Linked DNA regions of Homo sapiens: all the other regions are linked to region 2. The links are contacts of gene promoters, found by promoter capture Hi-C in blood cells and fetal thymus (Javierre and others, 2016). All regions are on one chromosome and are shown on one strand. Each heading gives the region's core, a stretch centred on a gene start or on the middle of the fragment in contact. The rest is flanking DNA. Distances are from core to core; before and after follow the strand shown.

The links. The method cuts DNA at HindIII sites, captures the fragments that hold promoters and counts their contacts. A CHiCAGO score of 5 or more calls a contact.
Region 1: a contact is called between a fragment that was not itself captured here and the fragment with the promoter of SULT1E1 in region 2, in 1 of 17 cell types (activated CD4 T cells). The highest score is 5.2, in activated CD4 T cells.
Region 3: a contact is called between a fragment that was not itself captured here and the fragment with the promoter of SULT1E1 in region 2, in 4 of 17 cell types (neutrophils, M0 macrophages, monocytes and 1 more). The highest score is 9.2, in neutrophils.

What each region holds. Positions count from the first base shown.
Region 1 is chr4:69,644,825-69,648,992 of GRCh38, reverse strand. UGT2A1 (UDP glucuronosyltransferase family 2 member A1 complex locus) reads left to right here. Exons shown (of 7, transcript NM_001252275.3): 2 at 1,295-2,063. The coding sequence starts at 1,349. Among named protein-coding and RNA genes, the nearest start is that of UGT2A1, 6.3 kb to the left of the region's middle. The HindIII fragment of the contact is 181 bases long and covers 2,429-2,609 here.
Region 2 is chr4:69,858,303-69,863,067 of GRCh38, reverse strand. It overlaps SULT1E1 (sulfotransferase family 1E member 1), which reads left to right and starts at 2,923. Exons shown (of 8, transcript NM_005420.3): 1 at 2,923-3,019. The HindIII fragment of the contact is 12,779 bases long and covers 1-4,765 here.
Region 3 is chr4:69,674,815-69,679,597 of GRCh38, reverse strand. No RefSeq gene overlaps it. Among named protein-coding and RNA genes, the nearest start is that of UGT2A1, 24 kb to the right of the region's middle. The HindIII fragment of the contact is 2,976 bases long and covers 129-3,104 here.

The sequences.
Region 1 (4,168 bases), core at 1,270-3,769, 210 kb after region 2:
TATTGTGTTAGCATGCTTTTGGCAGGCTGCTATTCATATGGATTCCTTAGTTGGTAAGGGGACGTGATACATTTTGATGTGGCAATCTATCCCAGTGGTTAATACAATAGGCTGTGGGAGTCAGAGATCCTTAAGACTGCTACCAGCAGTTCCTATCTTTTATTTATTCTTATTTTTATAGATTTAGGGGTTCAAGTGCAGTTGTCCTGTTTGGGTACATTGTGTAGTGGTGAAATCTGAGGTTTTAGTATACCCATCACTCAAGTAGTGTACACTGTATTTCCATTGTACCCAATAAGTAATATTTTCTTATTTTGCTGTAGGAACATGGCAAATTATTCAATCTCTTTGGGCAGTGGTTTCTTTTTCTTTGATGTGGGAGTAATTATAAAAGATCCATAATTGGATAATTTTTAAAATAAGGAAGAAATGAAATTAACGTGTTAAAGAGTTTGCGTAATGTCTGACATAACAAGGACTTAATAAACGCTAGCAGTTGTTGAAGGCTGAATCTAGATGTCAAGTAGCTGTTTTTCATGCAGGCTAGATAGTTTTTGAACAGCACTTTTGGTAGATGTATGCTTGACTTAGTAATTCTCTTAAATAGCTCCTATTCACTACTAGCATTACCTATAATCTCTTGCACATATTTTATTTTATTCATTTATTTATAATATTTTCTTGAGGATTAACAAACTATTTTTGTAAACATATTACTAAAGTAGTAATATAATACTATATGTGTTATACATATTATTTATAAGTATTATTTGAATTTATAAATATTTGAATTTATAAATATTTATAGTAATATATTTATACATATTATTTGACAATCTTATATATTGTAACTGTTATTATAATGTTTAATTGTGATAAATGGAATTATATTCATGCATTAAAAATTTAAAAACTTACAGCATTAACATCTTTAAATTTCTGAATGAGTTTTGGTCCTATCTGAGGTTTCAATACCTAGGCCTGAATGTAGAGTTGAGATGTACAGAAGCTTTATCCAATTTAATAGTAAAAATGTAACAATTATGAAACACACAAAAAAGGGTTGGAGTATCAAGTTCAAAAGGAGGATTAGACAGCAGGAATCATAACTAAAACACTAAAATTAAAACAACAGATTTGAGAAGTAAGACACATTACCCATAAATCTGTAAATATCCTAAAATATGGAGCTACTATGACTAGTATCACTTTCTAGAAAGAAGGCTTTTAAGGATATTAATGGTTTGCCTCAAAATTGAGAAATAATTTTGTCTTTCCTTTTTTTCTTTAAAAGCAGAGAAAAACATTTGCTTCACATCTCATCAAATCTTCTGCATCAAGCCACATCATGTTAAACAACCTTCTGCTGTTCTCCCTTCAGATAAGTCTCATAGGAACCACTCTTGGTGGGAATGTTTTGATTTGGCCAATGGAAGGTAGTCATTGGCTAAATGTTAAGATAATTATAGATGAGCTCATTAAAAAGGAGCATAATGTGACTGTCCTAGTTGCCTCTGGTGCACTTTTCATCACACCAACCTCTAACCCATCTCTGACATTTGAAATATATAAGGTGCCCTTTGGCAAAGAAAGAATAGAAGGAGTAATTAAGGACTTCGTTTTGACATGGCTGGAAAATAGACCATCTCCTTCAACCATTTGGAGATTCTATCAGGAGATGGCCAAAGTAATCAAGGACTTCCACATGGTGTCTCAGGAGATCTGTGATGGCGTTCTTAAAAACCAACAGCTGATGGCAAAGCTAAAGAAAAGCAAGTTTGAAGTCCTGGTGTCTGATCCAGTATTTCCTTGTGGCGATATAGTAGCTTTAAAACTTGGAATTCCATTTATGTACTCCTTGAGGTTTTCTCCAGCCTCAACAGTGGAAAAGCACTGTGGGAAGGTACCATACCCTCCTTCCTATGTTCCTGCTGTTTTATCAGAACTCACCGACCAAATGTCTTTCACTGACAGAATAAGAAATTTCATCTCCTACCACCTACAGGACTACATGTTTGAAACTCTTTGGAAATCATGGGATTCATACTATAGTAAAGCTTTAGGTATGTAACAAATTTTGTTTTTATTACTTGAATTTGAACAAACAGACCTTTGTAGAGCCTCTTCTTTATTTCCCTATGTCTATTCTTTTTTAATTCCAAGTATTGATGTACTATATATTACTATCACTTGATAGCAGAAAAGAAGATAAAAGACATTGTACTTCAGAAGTACAGTGTGTTGTTTTCTAATTGCATGGACTTAAATATATCAATTCAGTTCTTTTATGGATAAAATATAGTGACAAATACTTCAATTTAAAAGTTGGGCTGGATCTCATGTAGATAATTATGCTCAAAATAGAAATTGCCTAGAAACTGCAGTGATGTGTGGAGAAAGCCGGAAAATGTTAAACTTTCCACAAGCTTATTATTAATACAGACATTAATATGCACGTTTAAGAACATACATATATGTGGATAATCTCTGATCATCACTTAATAAATATTAAGGCTCATAAAGAAACAAAATACATTAAGGCTTTATCACCTTTAATTGTAAGGTGTGAACTACAACCATTGATCAGGGTGATTTATCCATGCTAAGCTTATTTAATTTGCTTAAGTGTGATATGGTGTTTACCTGATGAATACAATATAATCAATGGTACTAGAATAAAAGCCTATATTGATCATGTTGATACATTTATACACATATTTGTCTAAAAATCAAACAGGCCTTGCCCATTTTTTATGCTTTTGAATTTTATCATTTATTCTTCATTAATTATAGATTTCTTACTCTTTACTAAGCACTCTTTTAGATAGGAAGACTAAAATAAAGTCCATGGATTCAAGGATTTCACAAACAGATAAATCAGACATTAAAAGGAATATTTATTATGTGAATTATGTAAATATGGAAATATATACAAAATACAAAATGTAGAGGAGTTAGGTATTATGCGACAGACAGAGTGAGTTATTCTGAAAAACTTCAGAGTTCAGATAATGCATAAGGATATTTTAAAATACTGAATGTGAGTTTTTCTGCAAGGTAAGAATGGGGAAGGAAAAGTGTGCTCAAAGTTGAAGACAAAACAGCACAGGTGCGATGGATATTTCTGATAATTTAGTATTTCTGAAGGTTCAAGTGTAAGGTAGGGAGACATGGAGGAAGATGCTAATGACGTCGGAACCGCAAGAATGAGTGAATTAATTCAATGAATATTTCAAAGTCTCCTGTATGTCATTCTAAAAACATTTTAATCTAATAAGCAATTCAGGACCATCTAAAGGGAAATATTATGACCTGATTTTCATTTTACGTAAAACACTTGGACAGATGTGGCAGTAGAGTTGAGAGGTGTGAGACTAGACTAATGTATCACTCTAGGAAAGATGTGGTAGGAGCCTGCCCTACAGAAGTAGCTGATAAATGGAGGAAAATAATGCAGTATGAGACTACCTAGCAACACAATTGGGAGAGCAGGTGCTTACAGGCAACATCCACATAGCAGTCTGTGGCTGGGAAAAGTAATTCAGTCTCCTTGCACCTGAACTTCATTTATCTCATCTCTGACAGGGCTACTAAAAGGACTAAATTAGTTTACATCTGAAAGGATTTTAGAATAGTGTGGCCCAATCAACCCTGATAGCGAATATGGGAGAGTAAAAATTAATATTGCATTGAATTTTGGACATGCTGTGTATGTGATACTTTTGGGAATATTTGGCGAAATCCAGTAAGCAGCTGGATATACGGGATGAGATCTCAGAGGTAATCTCATGGGTTATTAACATTGACACATTAATTTGTGTGCATTCGTTACTGATAACAAAGTAATAATGCACAGACTGCAGAGACTGTAATGTTTGCTAAGCAGAGCTTGTAAGGCCTAGAGATGTTTACTAGCTAATGAATGAACATCCTAAATGCTATTAAAAATAATTTAAAGATGACGAAGTGCACTGTGTAAAACAGTGGGTTGCGTGAATGTTGGCAAAAGAAAAAGTGAGATTTCTGTGTAGTGATACCTACTGACACATTAGCTTCTTTTCTACAGATCTCTGTTCTAAAACAACTGTAAAGTTGATATGTATCAATCAAAATAAATATGCATAGGTTAGTATGTGAATGAGGATGTGAGATACTACAGCCATGTGAA
Region 2 (4,765 bases), core at 1,674-4,173:
ATCTAGCGATCACACACTTAGATATTTACTCAAATGAGGTATAAACTTGTGTCCACACAAAAACCTGCACATAATTGTTTTTAGCCATTTTATTCCTAATTGCCAAAACTTGGAGATAACCAAGATGTCCTCTAATAGTTGAATGGATAAACAAAGTGTGGTATATCCACATAATACGGTATTGCTCAGCAGTTCAAAAAAAAGAGTTATTTAGTCACCAAAAAAGATGGAGAAGTCTTGAATACATATAGTTAGGCCAAAGAAGCTAATCTGAAAATGTTGCATACTGTTTGACTCCACCTACGTGACATTGTGGAAAAGGCAAAACTACAGACAATAAAAAGATCAGTCATTGCTAGGATTTCAGAGTAGGGAAGGCAGGATGAATAGGTTTAGAACGAGGGATTTTTAGGGCAGTGAAACTGTTCTGTATGGTATTGTATTGACAAACTTGTGGCAATATGCATTTATCAAAAACTATAGAATTGTATACAACAGAGAGTAAATCCTAACGTAAACCATGGACTTTAGTTAATGCTGATGTATCAACACTGTTTTTTGTTTGTTTGTTTGTTTTTTGGGTTTTTTTTGAGAATTAGTCTGGCTCTGTTGCCCAGGATGGAGGGCAGTGGCACCATCTCGGCTCACTGCAACCTCTGCGTCCTGGGTTCAAGAGATTCTCCTGCCTCAGCTTCCCAAGTAATGGGGATTACAGGTTAACTTTGACAAAGGCTCAGTTAAACATGCAACTTATTTTCACATTATTAATATTAAAATCTTGCTATTTATAAAAAAGACTCTATAGGACTTTTAATCTTGATCCAGAGAAAGTGTGTGCTACAGAAAAAGCCCAATAGTCACAAAAAAGCCACAGTAATTGTTTTGGGAACTCTGTCACACAGAAGTGCCAGCTTTACACTTGTTTTCAGTGTTTCAGAGTATAACAGCAGTATGTCTGTCTGCATATCTGCCCACATTCTTTTTGTTTGACATTATTATAATACTTAATAAATGTACATATTTTCAAGATATCTGCCCAAATTCTGAGGGTCAAGATAAACATTAAAAACCGGTCCTTATCTGAGATCCATTTTTTTTTTTGACATTGACTCAAACATTTTGTAACTCAGTCTGTACCCATTACTCATGGAGAAGAATGAGGTTTCAGGGCCATCTTGCCTGTTGTTTTGTTTTTATCAGTAAGTGAATTCTTAACATTAGAAAGATTTTCTAAGAATAAATGTGTATTGAACATCTGTGGTTGCCAGAATTACATGAGTTAGGAGCATTTGTGACATCCCTGCAACCAATTGTTTACAAGTGAAAAACAGACAGATGTATTGAGGTTAAATCTGTTTATATTAGCTTGTGCTCATTTTCTGATTTTTTTGGACTAAAAAATGTTTTCGCTAAACAATAAAGGAAACTTCATAGATTCTTGTCATTAAAAAAATAAAGTGAAGCTATGCTGCAAGGTTAAAAATTATATTCTGTATTAAATTTGTATATATATACTTAATTTTTAAAGGTACATAGTAGGCATATGAATGAGTAAATTTGTACATTTAATGATTGTTTTTCAACACATATTTTATTTAACTCAAATAATATGACAGACTGCATAAAACAAAGTAAAATGAAAATCTAAATTTGGGTCCCTGGTTACTCCTTTTCTACCTTAATTTTCTATTATGAAAAGCCCCATTTTTCAGAAACCACTTAACACCTCTTATTTTGCATAAGGCTAGATATTGCTTTCTATAACAACTATAGCCCCCTTAACTTCTTATATTTCTTGAATAAATCAGCCACTTTTATTCAGTAAATACATATTCAATGCCTAGCCTACTAGATGCCAGAAAAAAATGCTAATTACAGAGTAAGACCCTGTTTTCAAGCTATTTATAATTTAAAAAGTACTCTGGACAAGCAAACATTGATTTACAACACAGTAAAATAAATACTAGTTAGGAGAAAGTTCAAAGTTTAAAAGTCACTAAGAGAAACATAGAGTCTTGTAAGAGTGAGCCTCTCAAAGGAAATGTAATCTAACAGTAATTAATAGAGAAATAAGAAATAACAGGGTTGGAGGTGTTGATGGGGTGGAGCAAAGGATAATTTTCTTAAGTGACAGAGTAGGTGCAGAAAAATGAAAAGAAAGGTAATGCATTTGTGGATTCCACAAACCCTTGGCCATTTATTTTTCTAATTCTCTTGTGTAAATTCCAAGTGTTGGTAGCTATCATTACCTGAAAAATTCACAGTATGCTATTTTGTGGTTGGGAGCAGAGAGAAGTCAGGTTTCTAAAATAATAATCGAAAGGTGAGTGATGTTTACATTCTTTCTTTAGCTGTCATCTGCTTTTTAAAATTTTCAGGTCTGCTTAAGAGTTAAAGGCAAAGAGTTTAAATAGGTGTTTTCCAATTGACATGTTAAGATACAACCCAATGACTTCTTTGGCAGGTCTTAATAAACTGAGCTAGGTCTGATTGAGGGTCCTTGCTGTCTTATTTCTTTCCTCATTGGCTTCTCTTTCTTCACTCCAATAAGTTTATTCTTTTGAAAGTTAACCATAGTCATGCTATTATTTGTCAATGAGTGAATAAGGGATTCTCCCTTCCCAGTCTCTCTTCCCAGGCCTCTTCTTTCTCATCTTTTCCTTTTCTCCCTCCTTCTTCCCCAACCCCTGACGGCAGACTTGGGAATTTGAATATGAGCCAAATAATTAAAAAAATAACAGCAGGATATTTCTACATCTCCATGAATGAACATGACTCTGTGTGGTTACTGCAGCTGCAGGTATGCATTTACATCTACATTAACTATTGCATCATGGACTTCATGAAGCCAAGCCCCCAAATTAATCTCCACCTCCTTCTCTGGCATTCAGGATATAAACTCACCAGAAACATTCCAAATGCAGAAGTGGTTCTCATCTTTTTTTGCAGCTTAAGATCTGCCTTGGTATTTGAAGAGATATAAACTAGATCAATTTCTTTCACAGGATCAACTAAACAGGTTGTACTTTTTTATTATTAATATCAATACTTAGATTTTAGATATATAAAATATAGAATGAAAATTATGTATTACAAAGCTCTTAAAAATAAAATATACAAAGACCAAAGTCTTGATTGATACTTTAGTTAATTAATGATGTGAAGCATTTAAAACCTTTTAAAATAATTTGTTGTTAAAAATAATATTTTACATTTATGTAGTATTTTGTTGCTTATTGCTTTAATGTAAAATTACAGTACCATTGCTATCTTAAAAGTGCTGAATGCTGGACGTGTTCTCCATTTTACCAATGAGAAAATAAAGCAAGCAGGGTAGAAGGAGGTAGAATAGAGATTGACTTTTAGTTTTGTGTTCCTGTGATAAGGGGTCTTGCAAATAGGGGCATTACTTTCATGTAAGAAACTTCAGATAAATATGACAGAAATCCAAAGTCCTTGGTAAATAATTAATATGTAGGTCATTGACATATATTGCCTTTTAAATCTGTGAATCCTTACTTAGTAGAAACTAGAGAGCTTCTTGATCTAATAATTGAACTTAACAAATATTTCTGAACATCTACTTTGTGTCATAGTGCTGGAGATTGGGATAGAAACATGTACAAAAGTCACTTTGCCCTCATACAGGTAAATCTAAGAAAGTAGGGACTATGAGAACCCTATGTATCTATATCCACCATAGTATTCTAGCACTGACTACAGGGCCTAGGAAAAGGGTAGGCATTCACATAGGGAGTATTTGCTGGATAAAAGGCAGGTTGGAAGATGCAGGAGGGGAGTATGCAGAAAGAAAGGAAGAAAGAGAGGAAGGAGAGCGGGAAGGAAAAACACTTTCTGAGTTTAATTGAATTTATAAGTCACAATTTTAACAACTTTTTTGATGTTTATTTCTGAACAACTGACCTACATACTCAGAATAAAAAATTGACAATTTCTAACTGAAATAGATCTTTTGAGAAAATGGGGATCACATAGGAAGTAAATCCATACATTGTAATATGAGACAATTTACCAAAAGGAATAGAATGAGAAAAGATATTTTATTACATGCCACCTACTTTGCCTCTCAGACCAAAATTGACTATGAAGGAGTAGCTGGAAGTCAGCCAACCACTTAATGATAAATCTACCACTCCCAGCTGACTATAAGCCAATTCTTATAAACTTGGCTGAACACCAAGAAAGTAATTCACATGAGTAAGCAAACCAATAGGCAGGACAAATCGTGGTGCATTTTATACACATTTCTTCTAGTGAAAGATCTATTTTCTGAGACTAAGGAGAAGGCTTGGGGAACAAGTGATTTATTGATAAGGCTAATATGCATTTTGGAAATAGAAATCTCATATTTTTGGTGACATTACATCTGATATGATGTAGAGGAAGGTTTTTTAAAAGTTGAGATTGTCCTAAGGGCTGGGGCAATTTATGTGTGTAGAAGAACTTATCAGGCAGGTTTTTGGGCAAATGTGAACAGGAGGAAGATCTAGAAAGGCTAATGTCAGGAAAGACAAAATGTGTTGGGAAGCTATGTCAGAAACTTGAAATAAGCTAAGTTTGGCAGTTGAAAAAACAAGATACTAAAGGAATTTGAAAGCTAATGAAAGAAAGTATGCCTAATTAAAAATTCTGTTAGTAACCTTGAACATGAAATAGATTGTCATGGGATCAGGAGATGAATTAGGAAATGATAACCATCTTGCTTAACCTTATCATTTTTAGCCAAGTCATTCAATGGGAGTAT
Region 3 (4,783 bases), core at 367-2,866, 180 kb after region 2:
TATACATTAAACACAATAAAACAGGAATTTAAAAAATTTTACGGGAGGTGTAGTTGAGGAAATAGATGTATCCTTATGGCACAAAAAGAAAAAAACTAAATGTTATTGTACTGACAAATATATAAGCTTGGGCTTAAGAATAGAGAAAAACAAGAAATGGGGAAAAGATTCCCTATTTAATAAATGGTGCTGGGAAAACTGGCTAGCCATATGTAGAAAGCTGAAACTGGATCCCTTCCTTACACCTTATACAAAAATTAATTCAAGATAGATTAAAGACTTAACTGTTACACCTAAAAACATAAAAACCCTAGAAGAAAACCTAGGCAATACTATTCAGGACATAGGCAAGGGCAAGGACTTCAGGACTAAAACACCAAAAGCAAATGGCAACAAAAGCCAAAAGAGACAAATGGGATCTAATTAAACTAAAGAGCTTCTGCACAGCAAAAGAAACTACCATCAGCGTGAACAGGCAACTTACAGAATGGGAGAAAATTTTTGCAATCTACCCATGTGACAAAGGGCTAATATCCAGAATCTACAAAGAACTTAAACAAATTTACAAGAAAAAAAAAAACATCAAAAAGAGGGCAAAGGATACGAACAAACATTTCTCAAAATAAGACATTTATGCAGCCAACAGACACATGAAAAAAAAGCTCATCATCACTGGTCATCAGAGAAATGCAAATCAAAACCACAATGAGATGCCATCTCATGCCAGTTAGAATGGTGATCATTAAAAAGTCAGGAAACAACAGATGCTGGAGAGGATGTGGAGAAATAGGAACACTTTTACACTGTTGGTGGGAGTGTAAATTAGTTCAAGCATTGTGGAAGACAGTGTGGCAATTCCTCAACAATCTAGAACTAGAAATACCATTTGACCCAGTGATCTCATTACTGGGTATATACCCAAAGGATTATAAATCATGCTACTATAAAGACACATGAACACCTATGTTTATTGTGACACTATTCACAATAGCAAAGACTTGGAACCAACCCAAATGTCCATCAATGATAGACTGGATTAAGAAAATGTGGCACATACACACCGTGGAATACTATGCAGCCATAAAAAAGGATGAGTTCATGTCCTTTGCAGGTACATGGATGCAGCTGGAAACCATCATTCTCAGCAAACTATCACAAGGACAGAAAACCAAACACTGCGTGTTCTCACTCATAGGTAGGAATTTCACAATTAGAACATTTGGACACAGGGAGGGGAACATCACACACTGGGGTTTGTCGGTGTTGGGGGGGGGTTGGGGGAGGGATAGCATTAGGATAAATACCTAATGTAAATGATGAGTTGATGGGTGCAGCAAACCACCATGGCACATGTATACCTATGTAACAAACCTGCACATTGTGCACATGTACCCTAGAACTTAAAGTATAATATTAAAAAAAGAGGGACTGCTCATAAAACTAAATTAAAATTTTAAAAAAATGAATTTTGCTAGCTGGGCATTAATCCTTTCTACATGAAATATTTTAAATCTAGTGAAAATGATTTTAAAGAGAAAGTCAAAAGACACTACTTGTGGTTGAGATTTTAAATACAGTTATATATATATAATGTTCACTTCTATGAACAGATGATTAGGTATTATTATTGATCATTGTACCTAAGATCAAAAAACTAGGGTACTTAATGAAATGTTAAGATTTTGAAGACCCATAGACTTTATGATATAAAGGTAATGTTAATATGATCTTTGGTTATGCATACTGAATTTTGACATGAATACTCTATGTAAAGAAACAACATAAAGTTTTTACAAGATAAATGTGTGCTTTTAGAAAAATAATTGAGTTTCTCTGTGTTATATTTTTACCCACTTGATATTAAAAAATATGCAAAGTCAAAGAAATGCTTTCAAAAGCAACAGAATATGCAAGATGGGCTCTATGGATCTCTAAAATATACTATGGATCTCTAAAATTTTTTTTTAATTTTTAAATTTTTTTTTGAGTACACGGTAGATGTATATATTTATGGGATATATGGTATGCCTTTCATAAAGTCATGCAATGTGAAATAACCAAAATAGCCACCTTATGCAGAATGGGGTATCTGTCTCTTCAAGCATTTATCCTTTGAGTTACAAACAACTCAATTACATCTTTAAGTTATTTTATAATGTACAATTATTATTCACTATAGTCACCCTATTCTGCTATCAACAGTAGGTCTTATTTATTCTTTCTATTTATTTTGTAGACATTAACCATCTCCACCTCCTTCCTCCCTCCAGCCCCTCACTACCATTCTCAGCCTCTGGAAACCATCCTTCTTCTGTATGTCTATGAGTTCAGTTGTTTTGACTTTTGGATTCCACAAATAAGTGAGAACATGTGACGTTAGTCTCTCTGTGCCTGTCTTATTTCACTTAAAATAATTATCTTCAGTTCCACCAATGTTGTTGCAAATGACAGAATCTTATTCTTTCTTATGGCTGAATGGTACTCCATTGTGCATTATGTACCACGTTTTCTTTATCCATTTATCTCTTGATGGACACATACGTTGCTTCCAAATCTTGACTACTGTGAAGAGTGCTACAACAAACAGGAATGCAGATATCTCTTCAATACACTAATTTCCTTTCTTCTCACTATATACCTAGCAGTGAGATTGCTGGATCATATGGTACCTCAATTATTAGTTTTCTGAGGAACCTCCAAACTGTTCTCCATAGTGGTTGTATTAACTTACATTTCCACCATCATTTCCTTTTTCTCCACATCCTCAGCATCATTATTAATGTCTGTCTTTTGGATATAAGCCATTTCAACTGGGGTGAGATGATAGCTCATTGCAGTTTTGATTTACATTTTTCTGATGAACAATGATGTTGAGCACATTTTCATATGCCTGTTTGCCATCTGTATTTCTTCTTTTGAGAAATGCTTACTTCTGCCCATTTTTGACTGGATTATTAGATTTTTTTCCCCTATAGAATTGTTCAAGCTCCTTATATACTCTAGTTATTAAGCCCTTGTCAGATGGGTAGTTTACAGATATTTTCTCCATTTCTTTGGGCTTTCTCCTTACTTTGTGAATTGTATTTTTTTGATGTGCAGAAGCTTTTTAACTTGTGATCCCGTTCTTCTGTCTTTGCTTTGTTTGCCTATGCTTGTAAGGAATTGCTCAATAAATTTTTGCCTAGAACGATGTCTTGGAAATTTTCCCAAATGTTTTCTTGAAGTAGTTTCGTAGATTGAGGTCTTAGATATAAGTCTTTAATTCATTTTAATTTGATTTTGGTAGCTGGTGAGAGATAGGAGCTAGTTTCATTCTTCTGCATATGGATATCCAGTATTCCCAGCACTATTTATTGAAGAGACTGTCTTTTCTTCCAGTGTATATTCTTGGCACCTTTCTCAAAAATGAGTTCACTGTACGTGTGTGGTTTTTGTTTCTGGGTTCTCTATTCTGTTCCATTTGTTTCTGTGTCTGTTTTTATGTGAGTACAATGCTGCTTTGGTTACTATAGCTCTGTCATATAATTTGAAGTCAGGGAATGTGATTACCCCAGTTGTGTCTTTTTCCTTAGGATACCTATGGCTATTTGGGGTCTTTTGTGGTTCCACACACATTTTAGGATTGTTTTTTCTATTTCTGTGAAGAATGTCATTGGTATTTTTATAGGGATTGCATCGAATCTGTAGATTGCTTTGGGTAATATGGACATTTTAACAATATTGATTCTTCCAACGAATGAACATGGAATATCTTTTCATTTTTAATTTTATGTGTAGCTATTGTAAATGCTATTACTTTTTTATTTCTTTTTCATATTGTATGCTGTCAGAATGTAGAAATGTTGCTGATTTTTGTATGTTGATTTTATATCCTGCAACATTACTAAATTTGTTTATCAGGTCTAGTAGTTTTTCAGTGGTGCCCTTAGGTTTTTCCAAATATATTATCATATCATCTGCAAACAAGGATAATTTGACTTCTTCCTTTCCAATTTCCATGTCCTTTATCTTTCTCTTGTTTGATTGCCCCAGCTGGGACTTCAAGTACTATGTTGAATAACAGTGGTGACAGTGGGCATCCTTGTCATGTTCCAGATCTTAGAGGAAAGGCTTTCGGTTATTCCCCATTTAGTATGATACTAGATATGGGTCTGTTGATATTGTTTGGATTCGTGTCCATGCCCAAATCTCATGCCTAATTGTGATTCCCAGTGTTGCAGGAGGGGCCTGTTGGGAGCTGACTGGATCATGGGGGTGGATTTCTTCCTTTCTGTTCTCATGATAGTGAGTGAGTTCGCACTAGATGTAGTTGTTTAAAAGTGTGGAGTACCTCCCGCTTTGCTCTCTCTTCCTCTTGCTCTTGCCATGTGAAGACATGCCTCCTTCCTCTTCACCTTCTGCCATGATTGTAAGTTTCTTGAGGCTTCCCCACCCGTGCTTCCTATGCAGCCTGAAGAACTATGAGCCAATTAAACCTCCTTTCTTTATAAATTACCCAGTCTCAGGTAGTTCTGTATAGAAATGCAAGAATATACTAATATATCTGTCATATATGGCTTTTATTATGTTGAGGATTGTTTCAAGACAGTGTTGGAAGAATGAGCTGAGCACTCAAGTGAGGGGGATGGGAAAACTAAAACTTTATTACTGTGAGCAAATATCACAACAAAAACAGCCTTGTAACAAGAGAAGAAAAAAGTGTAACCAAAGCTCAACAAAATGTAACCAGAAGCTCATCAGACCACAGGAAGAATCATCACCGGAGTCAGAAGGCAGACGCCTA